Linked DNA regions of Homo sapiens: region 1 is linked to region 2. The links are contacts of gene promoters, found by promoter capture Hi-C in human tissues and cell types (Jung and others, 2019). All regions are on one chromosome and are shown on one strand. The core of a region is centred on a gene start or on the middle of the fragment in contact, and the rest is flanking DNA. Distances in the headings are between cores, read along the strand shown. Region 1 overlaps MCUB (mitochondrial calcium uniporter dominant negative subunit beta). Region 2 holds the start of RRH (retinal pigment epithelium-derived rhodopsin homolog).

Evidence for each region. The method cuts DNA at HindIII sites, captures the fragments that hold promoters and counts their contacts. A contact is called where the count stands out against the background at its distance.
Region 1: a contact is called between a fragment that was not itself captured here and the fragment with the promoter of RRH in region 2, in 1 of the 25 tissues and cell types used here (spleen).

Annotation. Positions count from the first base shown.
Region 1 is chr4:109,685,171-109,689,474 of GRCh38, forward strand. It overlaps MCUB (mitochondrial calcium uniporter dominant negative subunit beta), which reads left to right. Exons shown (of 8, transcript NM_017918.5): 7 at 81-197; 8 at 2,345-3,549. The coding sequence ends at 2,422. CASP6 (caspase 6) reads right to left here. Exons shown (of 7, transcript NM_001226.4): 7 at 3,458-4,304. The coding sequence ends at 4,160. Among named protein-coding and RNA genes, the nearest start is that of CASP6, 16 kb to the right of the region's middle. The HindIII fragment of the contact is 5,769 bases long and covers 1-4,304 here.
Region 2 is chr4:109,826,466-109,830,554 of GRCh38, forward strand. It overlaps RRH (retinal pigment epithelium-derived rhodopsin homolog), which reads left to right and starts at 1,507. Exons shown (of 7, transcript NM_006583.5): 1 at 1,507-1,668. The coding sequence starts at 1,563. The HindIII fragment of the contact is 8,882 bases long and covers 413-4,089 here.

The DNA.
Region 1 (4,304 bases), core at 1,609-4,108, 140 kb before region 2:
CTGAGTCAAGTATCTTTCTTGCAGAGGCATTATGTTCATTCAAAACATGTTGTTTTCTTCTCTCTCTCTTTTTTTTTAAGGATTATACTTACTCAGCTGTTAAGAGTAGGCAATTTCTTCAGTTCTTCCACAAGAAATCAAAGCAACAGCACTTTGATGTGCAGCAATACAACAAGTTAAAAGAAGACCTTGCTAAGGTATACTACAAATACATCTTATAGCTGGTTTGTTTGGGAGCCAGAACTTAGTATCAGGGAAGTATAACTGGTGGCTCATCCTCACAAATTAAATCTTGGTCCTAGATTTCTGTGTGTTGTGGGATTGTTCATTGAAATGGTTGACATATTTCATATTAATTTCATATCCCAGTTTTACTCTTCTGTACATGAAGATAGCTTTAAATATGTGTGTTAAAATTTCTTAAATGACTTGAGATAGTAAAATAAAAGTTTTCACTGGAAATCCATTTCTAAGCAAATAATAAAAAATAGCATTTTAGGAAGGTGAACACTGTGATAAGGAACTTAAGGCATTTATAAGTTTCTTGTCCCTAAAGATAGAAGAATCATTATAGTATTCCTCCCTTCATCTTTTTCCCTTCTGAAAGGCACTTACTCAGGTATACACTGCTAAAAAGTGAAGGAACCATGGTACGAACACAAGTTTGATTTCGGAGTCTATATTCTTAAGTACTTTTTCACAGTCTGCTTGTTAGCCAGTTATCTCTGGCCTCCCAATTTACTCATTAACTTTGTTCAGATGGTGACTTCTCAGCACATCACTGGATTTTTCATTTTTATCAGTAATTTCATAACAAAAAAGTTTGGTAAAAATATCCTCCATTGCTCAATGCATGCTTGTTTAGTAGCTGGTAATCAAACCTTTTGTTATGTGTACTTTCTAAATTACTCATCCCTAGAATTTAAAACAGAATCACTCAAATTTTGTAGTCCAAAAATTGAAGGACGTTTTAATTTAAATTTTTTTGAGACAGATTCTTGCTGTTGCCCACACTAGAGTGTAGTGGTGCAATCTCAGTTCACTGCAACCTCCGCCTCCTGGGTTCAAGTGATTCTTGTGCCTCAGCCTCCTGAGTTAGCTGTGATTATAGGCGCCCGCCACCACACCTGGTTACTTTTTGTATTTTTAGTAGAGACAGAGTTCCACTATGTTGTCCAGGCTGGTCTCAAACTCCTAACCTCAAGTGATCCACCTGCCTTGGCCTCCCAAAGTGTTAGGATTACAGGTGTGAGCCACCATGTCCAGCCAAGCCTTTTTAAAAAATGTATTTTATTTCATATAGTCATTCTATAGGAAAAATATAATGCTTTTAAAAAAAATTTGTGGATTCCCTTATATTTGAATAATCCTATCTGAGAAGGCTAAGGAATGTTCTTTCAGCTAGTTTACAAGACAGTGCATTTGAGATTTAGAAGGTAAGCCTAGTGTGATCCCAGTGATTTGGGAGGCTGAGGTGGGAGGATCTCGAGTCCAGAAATTGGAGACCAGTCTAGTCAACATAGTGAGACCTCATCTCTACAAAATTTGTTTTTAAATTAGCTGGACATGGTGGCACATGCTTGTAGCCCTAGCTACTTGGGAAGCTGAAGCAGGAAGATCCCTTGAACCCAAGAGTTCCAAAGCTGCAGTGAACTATGATCACACCACTGCACTCCAGCCTGGGCAACAGAGCAAGACCCCATCTCTAAAATAAAAAAATTTAAATATAACACCTTGTTAATTATGTTTAAGGTAATAAAGTGGAGATAAAAAGATAAAGTGGTAGGTTAAGGGTTTTTTTTTTAAGAATATTAAGTGGAAAACCATTATAAAGGGTATAAACTGTATTTTTTTTTAAGGCATAAGGATGAATTAGTAAACTTAAACTCATCTTTTAAAAAGATCCACATATAAAATTGAAATATTTATATCCCGTCACTTTGGGAAGCCAAGGTGGGCAAATCACTTGAGTCCAGGAGTTCAAGACCAGCCAGAGCAACATGGCAAAACTCCATCTCTACAAAAAATACCAAAAAATATTAGGTGGGCATGGTGGTGGGCACCTGTGGTCCTAGCTACTTGGGAGGCTGAGGCAGGAGAATGACTTGCACCAGGGAGGCAGAGGTTGCAGTGGGCTGAGATGGTAGCACTGCACTCCTGCCTGGGTGACAGAATGAAACCCCATCTCAAGAAAAATATATATATATTTCAGCCATTTGCCACTAATAGTTTAAACATTTTATTGCTGTAAGGAGACGCTAAGTTTATAGAATTCCTCTCAAGCAGTAATGTTGGTATGTTTCTCTTCTTTCTGATCACATGCTTTTTCTTTTTCCCATGACAGGCTAAAGAATCCCTGAAACAGGCGCGTCATTCTCTCTGTTTGCAAATGCAAGTAGAAGAACTCAATGAAAAGAATTAATCTTACAGTTTTAAATGTCGTCAGATTTTCCATTATGTATTGATTTTGCAACTTAGGATGTTTTTGAGTCCCATGGTTCATTTTGATTGTTTAATCTTTGTTATTAAATTCTTGTAAAACAGAAGTATTGTTTGAAGTTCTCAACTGAGATTTTTACTTTTTGGATTTTTATGACTTGCTAATGTTAGAAAGGGCTTGTATGCGTCTATCAAAGCAACGGTGGCTGCTGTTAGCTAAAAATCCTTGTCAGCTTGTCCCACGTTTATTCTCTATGTGGAGGTGAAAGGGTCTGTGCTTGGCATTCACTTCCATTCTTAGACTTAATTTGGAATCATCCTTTTAAAAAAATCAGAGACCAGGTCTTGCCAAATCAAACTCCTGGGCTCAAGCAACCCTCCTGCCTCAACCTCCCACGGAATCGTCTTGTCATTAACTTCTTTTTTTAATATGCAGTAGTTGGGAGTAAGATCTTTTTATCATTTATCAAAAAGGCATAAATGTTCCACCAACCATAAAGTATAGTTGGTACTTTTTGAACTTCAACTGAAACAGTGTATATAAACGATTGCTTTTGAACCTGCAAATCACAAGTTTCAGGTATCGAAGCCAAAACAGTTAACTTTCTTCAGCCTCTGGCAGATTATTAACAAAACAGTATTATTCAGATTCTATATCATATTAATAAGAATTGAACCTTGAAAGTAACATCTGTTATTCTATTAATGTGATTGTGTGTGAATGGGTCTGATGACTGTTGGACTGTTTGTAGGAACTTAACATGGAAGATGCTGACAGAATCAGATTTTGCAGGTGTTCAACCTATAGTGGCTAAGAATTATGTTTTCTATTTCATCCTCAGAATGCCATACAACAATTCTGGAATGCTGATTTTTTTTAAAGTAGGAATTAAAGTCATACACAAAATGTGGTAATTCATATGTAGATGAAATATTAAACATTTAAATGACCGAGTAAAAAACATCTATCAATTACACAAATGAACAAGAATGTGAGTTAGAAAAATGTAATAAAATATGAATTTCGAATATTTTATTAAGGGATGATTTAATTCCTGGATTTCAAAAACCTTTAAAAACATCAAACAATAAACTTTTATAAAAAAGTGACAAAATACAAGTTAAATCAGCTAGATTTTTGTGTAACCCTGCAGTTTATTAAAAAATAATACAAATGCTTATAAATTTTTATTTATCTAATTTCCTGAGGATTTTGTTTCTCCATATCAAACCCTTTCACCATGGCCAACATGAACTTTTTTTTTTTTTTTTTAAGGCAGTTCTCTGCTAGGCATTAAACTTTAAAACATTTGAATCATTAGACCATAATGCTTCACCCTAACGATATTTATATAAAAGGAAGAGAAAGACATTTTCTTTTTTTTGAGACGGAGTTTCACTCGTTGCCCAGGCTGGAGTGCAATGGCGCAATCTCGGCTCACCGCAGCCTCCACCTCCTGGGTTCAAGTGATTCTCCTGCCTCAGCCTTCCAAGTAGCTGGGATTGCAGGCATGCGCCGCCATGCCTAGCTAAATTTTTTTTTGCATTTTTAGTAGAGACGGGGCTTCTCCATGTTGGTCAGGCTGGTCTCGAACTCCCGACCTCAGGTGATCCGCCCACCTTGGACTCCCAAAGTGCTGGGATTACAGGTGTGAGTAACCACGCCTGGCTGAGAAAGCCATTTTCAATACAGAGTGTAAAATTAGATAGCCTCTATTAATTAATTAGATTTTGGAAAGAAATGCAGCTTTTTAGTTAGCATTGAGGCAAAACAGGGAACCTGCTTCTTTCCAATTGCACTTGGGTCTTTGCAAAAGTCCACTCGGCGCTGAGAAACTTTCCTGTTCACCAGTGTGAGGAGTTCT
Region 2 (4,089 bases), core at 257-2,756:
TATCTGAAATTATATATTTTTCAGTTCTTAGAAATAATTATTTCTGGAAAATTTTTCATGGATGCTACAACTAGGTATAACTTATTACAGAAAAGGAAGGTAGTATGACCCAAAGCAAATTCAAAAATTTTAAGTTTTGTTTTGCATATTGAATGAAAGAAAAGACAAAGACTTTTTAAAGGGAGTGATTTCCTCTTGGGTATTATGTTTTTTGCTCTAGGGTCATTTGAAAACAATACTGACGAGATTCGCTTTTCTAGTATAGGTATAACAATATTACATTTATAAAAATGTGAGTACTGGTAGCTATAAGATTTGGGACAGATAAATCAACCTGTTCATCTTGAGTTTATACACAGGCAAGAGAACTGAAGCAAAAGGATTATCTTAGGTTTCTGCTGTGCCATTCTAGGATTTTTATAAAATTAAACTAAGTGGGTAAATATAGCCCTCTAGTGGTTCTGTTTTATGCTTACACTGTTAACTTTGGTGCATCTAAGCATTTCTCTAATGTTTACTGATTTTAGGAAACTGAGGAGAATCAGATTTTAATAATGTTAATGGCATAAAGAATATGGGAAAAAAGGTAATAGGGATACCTTATTATTCTAACAAAACATGCTCAGGTTGGTTTTCAGGTTGTAATGTGATAATCCAGAATATTTTTATTCTGTACTTTACAATATCAGTGATTGAATTCAGATACTCTGGCAAAGTATACAATGATTACTATCATCAGATAATATTAATTACTCATGTGCATATCAAACTATAGGGGAAATTAACGGATGGTGGAGTTGATCATATTATATCCATGCTATGAAATACATAGCTACTAATAAATTAGACTTTATTAGATTCTGGGTTTATTAACTTGGATATTATAATACAGCCTTATGGGAAAACAAGTTGCATTATATATATACATTTGTACTTATTTTTTTCCCTCATTTTTATTTACAAGAAGAAAGTGGAGGAAACCTGAAACACTTGTATGAATATGTGTATAAGCAGAGAAAAGCCTAAGAAAGGATATGCACCAAACAATACTGGTACCTTTAGGAGAGTGAGATTTGGAAGTAGGAAGGAGACTACTTCTTTGTCACTAATATTTAAATTGTTAAGAAAAAAAAAACAACAAAAGGAGCCGAAATGGAAAGACTTGAATGGTCAACAGAAAACAGGGACCTTAATCCGAATAGTTTTAGAGGACTAAGGCTGGCTCCTATACTGATTTCCTGAGTTTGTTTATTGTTAAATGGGATGTGTGTGCTTGATAATCTCCTTAGATAGAAGACTGATGCCCAAATAGGTTAAAATGTGTGGTGCTTGGTATTTCTTTTTGTTTTGCTAATAAGCTTTTCCCTTATTCTGGGAATTAAAGTCCTTTCCTCTTTAGCCCAATTAAATTTGTTAAGGGAGGGCCTCTATGAAAAGGCCCTTCTTTGAGGTCTCTAAGTGGAAATGATTGGTCCTAAAAAATCTTTCCTCAGTAGCTCATAAAGCAGTTCATAATTATCGAAGGCTTATTATGAAGGGTGTTTCGGTATCTTCCCTCCAAAATGCTAAGAAATAATTTAGGCAACAGTTCAGACTCTAAAAATGAAGATGGCTCGGTCTTTTCACAGACTGAACACAATATTGTTGCAACTTACTTGATTATGGCAGGTATGGATATTTAAGTAAGTTATTTTTCTTTAGAATGGGTGAAGAAAGGCAGAAGTTTTCAGCATAAGGCATGCATTGTTTCAAGTTCCATATTATTGGCCAACCTTGACAAGTCATTTATCCTGACTTGGCTTGCTCGTTGGTAAATGAGGATGATGATACTCTATTTCTGGGCTGTAAAGATCAAATAAGATAATGTGGGTGAAAGAATAAGGGAAAGCATTGTTAGTGATGGCCATTGCCACAGGTTATTTTGAATTTTGGTAAATAAGAGCAGTGAAGTGGGGCTGAGAAAAGTTTTCTATGTGATAAATAGTTCTTTCATAAAAATCTATGTATTTGATTATTGGATTGTTAAAGTTTTTATTGGAGAAGAGTATGCACCATGGCAAAAACATATTTTTATGTCATTTACTATTCTTATACATAACCCTCATATTTTTGTTCTTGGTGGTAGAATTTAGCTAAGAACTTAAAGGTTCTGGAAAGAAAAAGTCCTAAGAAGACAGAGCAGGGTATATTGTCATTGAGGACAGAGTCTGAAAATTCAGCTTGTTCCAGAATGCTTATTGGAAAACTCTTGAGTTTTGGATTTCATCTTTTAGTATATTTGCAACTGTGAGCATGTATCTTCCCTTTTTGTTCTTCCATTTTCTCATCTGTAAAACAAGGATAAGAATAAGTTATCTGTCATGATTGTTATAAGGAGTAAAATTAAGTGACACATAAATGCCATATAGTAGGTGTTGGACAAATATTTGTTTCTTTTTCCCTTTCCTCCCTACACACTCATTGATGTAAAGGATTGTTTGCAGAAAAAAAGGGATGGGGGAATGACAGAAACTTTTTATCTTTTTAATGTATCATTGAATTGTGTAACTTTTATATTGAGCAATCACTTAATTTTCAACTTTATACTCTAACGAGTTGTAGAAGTAACTCTTATATTGAGTTCATTATTTTTTGGATTGACTTTTATAAAAATTTTCAAACATTCAAAAGTAGAGTGAAAAGTATAACACACCATCCTATACCCAGTTTATAATTGTTTACGTTTCTTCCTTATAATTCAGCGTATTACTTCTAGTACTGGAAATTGAGTTCCTCAGTTAAGTTTTGCGATTTTAGTGACGTTATCTCGTTCATTTGAATACCTCTATGATAAGTACTAGACAAGTTCTAGTTTTTTTGTAATTGCAAAAAAGACTGAGAAAATCTCCTAACAATTACATGGAAATACTTTGTATACAAGTGTTTGGTTTAGTTAGTTATTTGTAGATGACCAAAAAAAAAAAAAATCCAAAAAACAACCAAAACTATCCTTTTTTGACCTGGTTACAAAATTAGCATGCAGAAAATATTCTATTTAGTTCTTATCTCTGTAACAGTAATAATAATAGTAATCTTACTACTACTGCTACTAATGTTATCATTTGAATACTTGCTATATACCAAGCACTGTTCTAAAACCTTACACATACAGAATAATTCATCCTTACACTAATTTAGTAAGTTACTCTTCAGTTTTATTTCTCTAGTTTATACAGATGAAGAGCTTAAGAAACTTGTCCAGCACACACATTTACTAAGCAGCTACACCAGGATTTGAACCCAGGCATTTTGGTTCTAGAGCCCTCACATATAAATCCAAGAGTCAGCTTTATCAAGGTATACAATGAGTGTGTGTTGTTTGTGTTTCTGGTGGATCCACTGAAGGAAGCATAGCTGAACTCTTTATGCTTTTGTTCTGCCCCTGTATCAAGCATCTATTTTTCTTTAGATCCCCTAACTTTCCTCCTTTAACAAAACTCACTTAAAGTTGCAAATCAAAACCAAAACTATGAGGAAAGGGTGTAGTGAAAGCATTTATTTCATTCGTTACTTTTACCAAGGGCCTATTTAGATTTTTTATTTAATTTTTAATTTGATCTTTCATTTATAGTTTGGCTCCTATAAACTGTTACAACTTCCAGTGCAACAGACATTTTGTTAATTTAGTGTCCTTGAGCACTCTCCCTTTCCCCAGTTAAGGCTGGGAGGTAAGAGGACATGGTGAATTTGAGGATCTGAAATAAATCATTATGTTTGAACTGTAAAATGAAGGGTGAGAGGTTGAAAAAGATGGCTGAGTACCAGACAGTGATGAGCCGTGTAAGTTTTAAAGGTGACAGGGAGTCACTGAAGGGTTTGAAATGGGAGTGACATGATCTGATTTGTGTTTTAGAAATGTGCTATAGTGGTAGCTAAGGGACCACATAGGAGGCCATTGCAGTGATTCTGAGGAGGGAGTAATCGCAGTGGGGACAGAAAAAAGTAGATACATTCAAGAGCCAGAAGGTGGAATTGATGATTGGATGTTGGGATTGTGGGAGAAGGAGAGAAGTATCAAAGATGATGCCTAGGTTTCTTTTTTGAGCCACT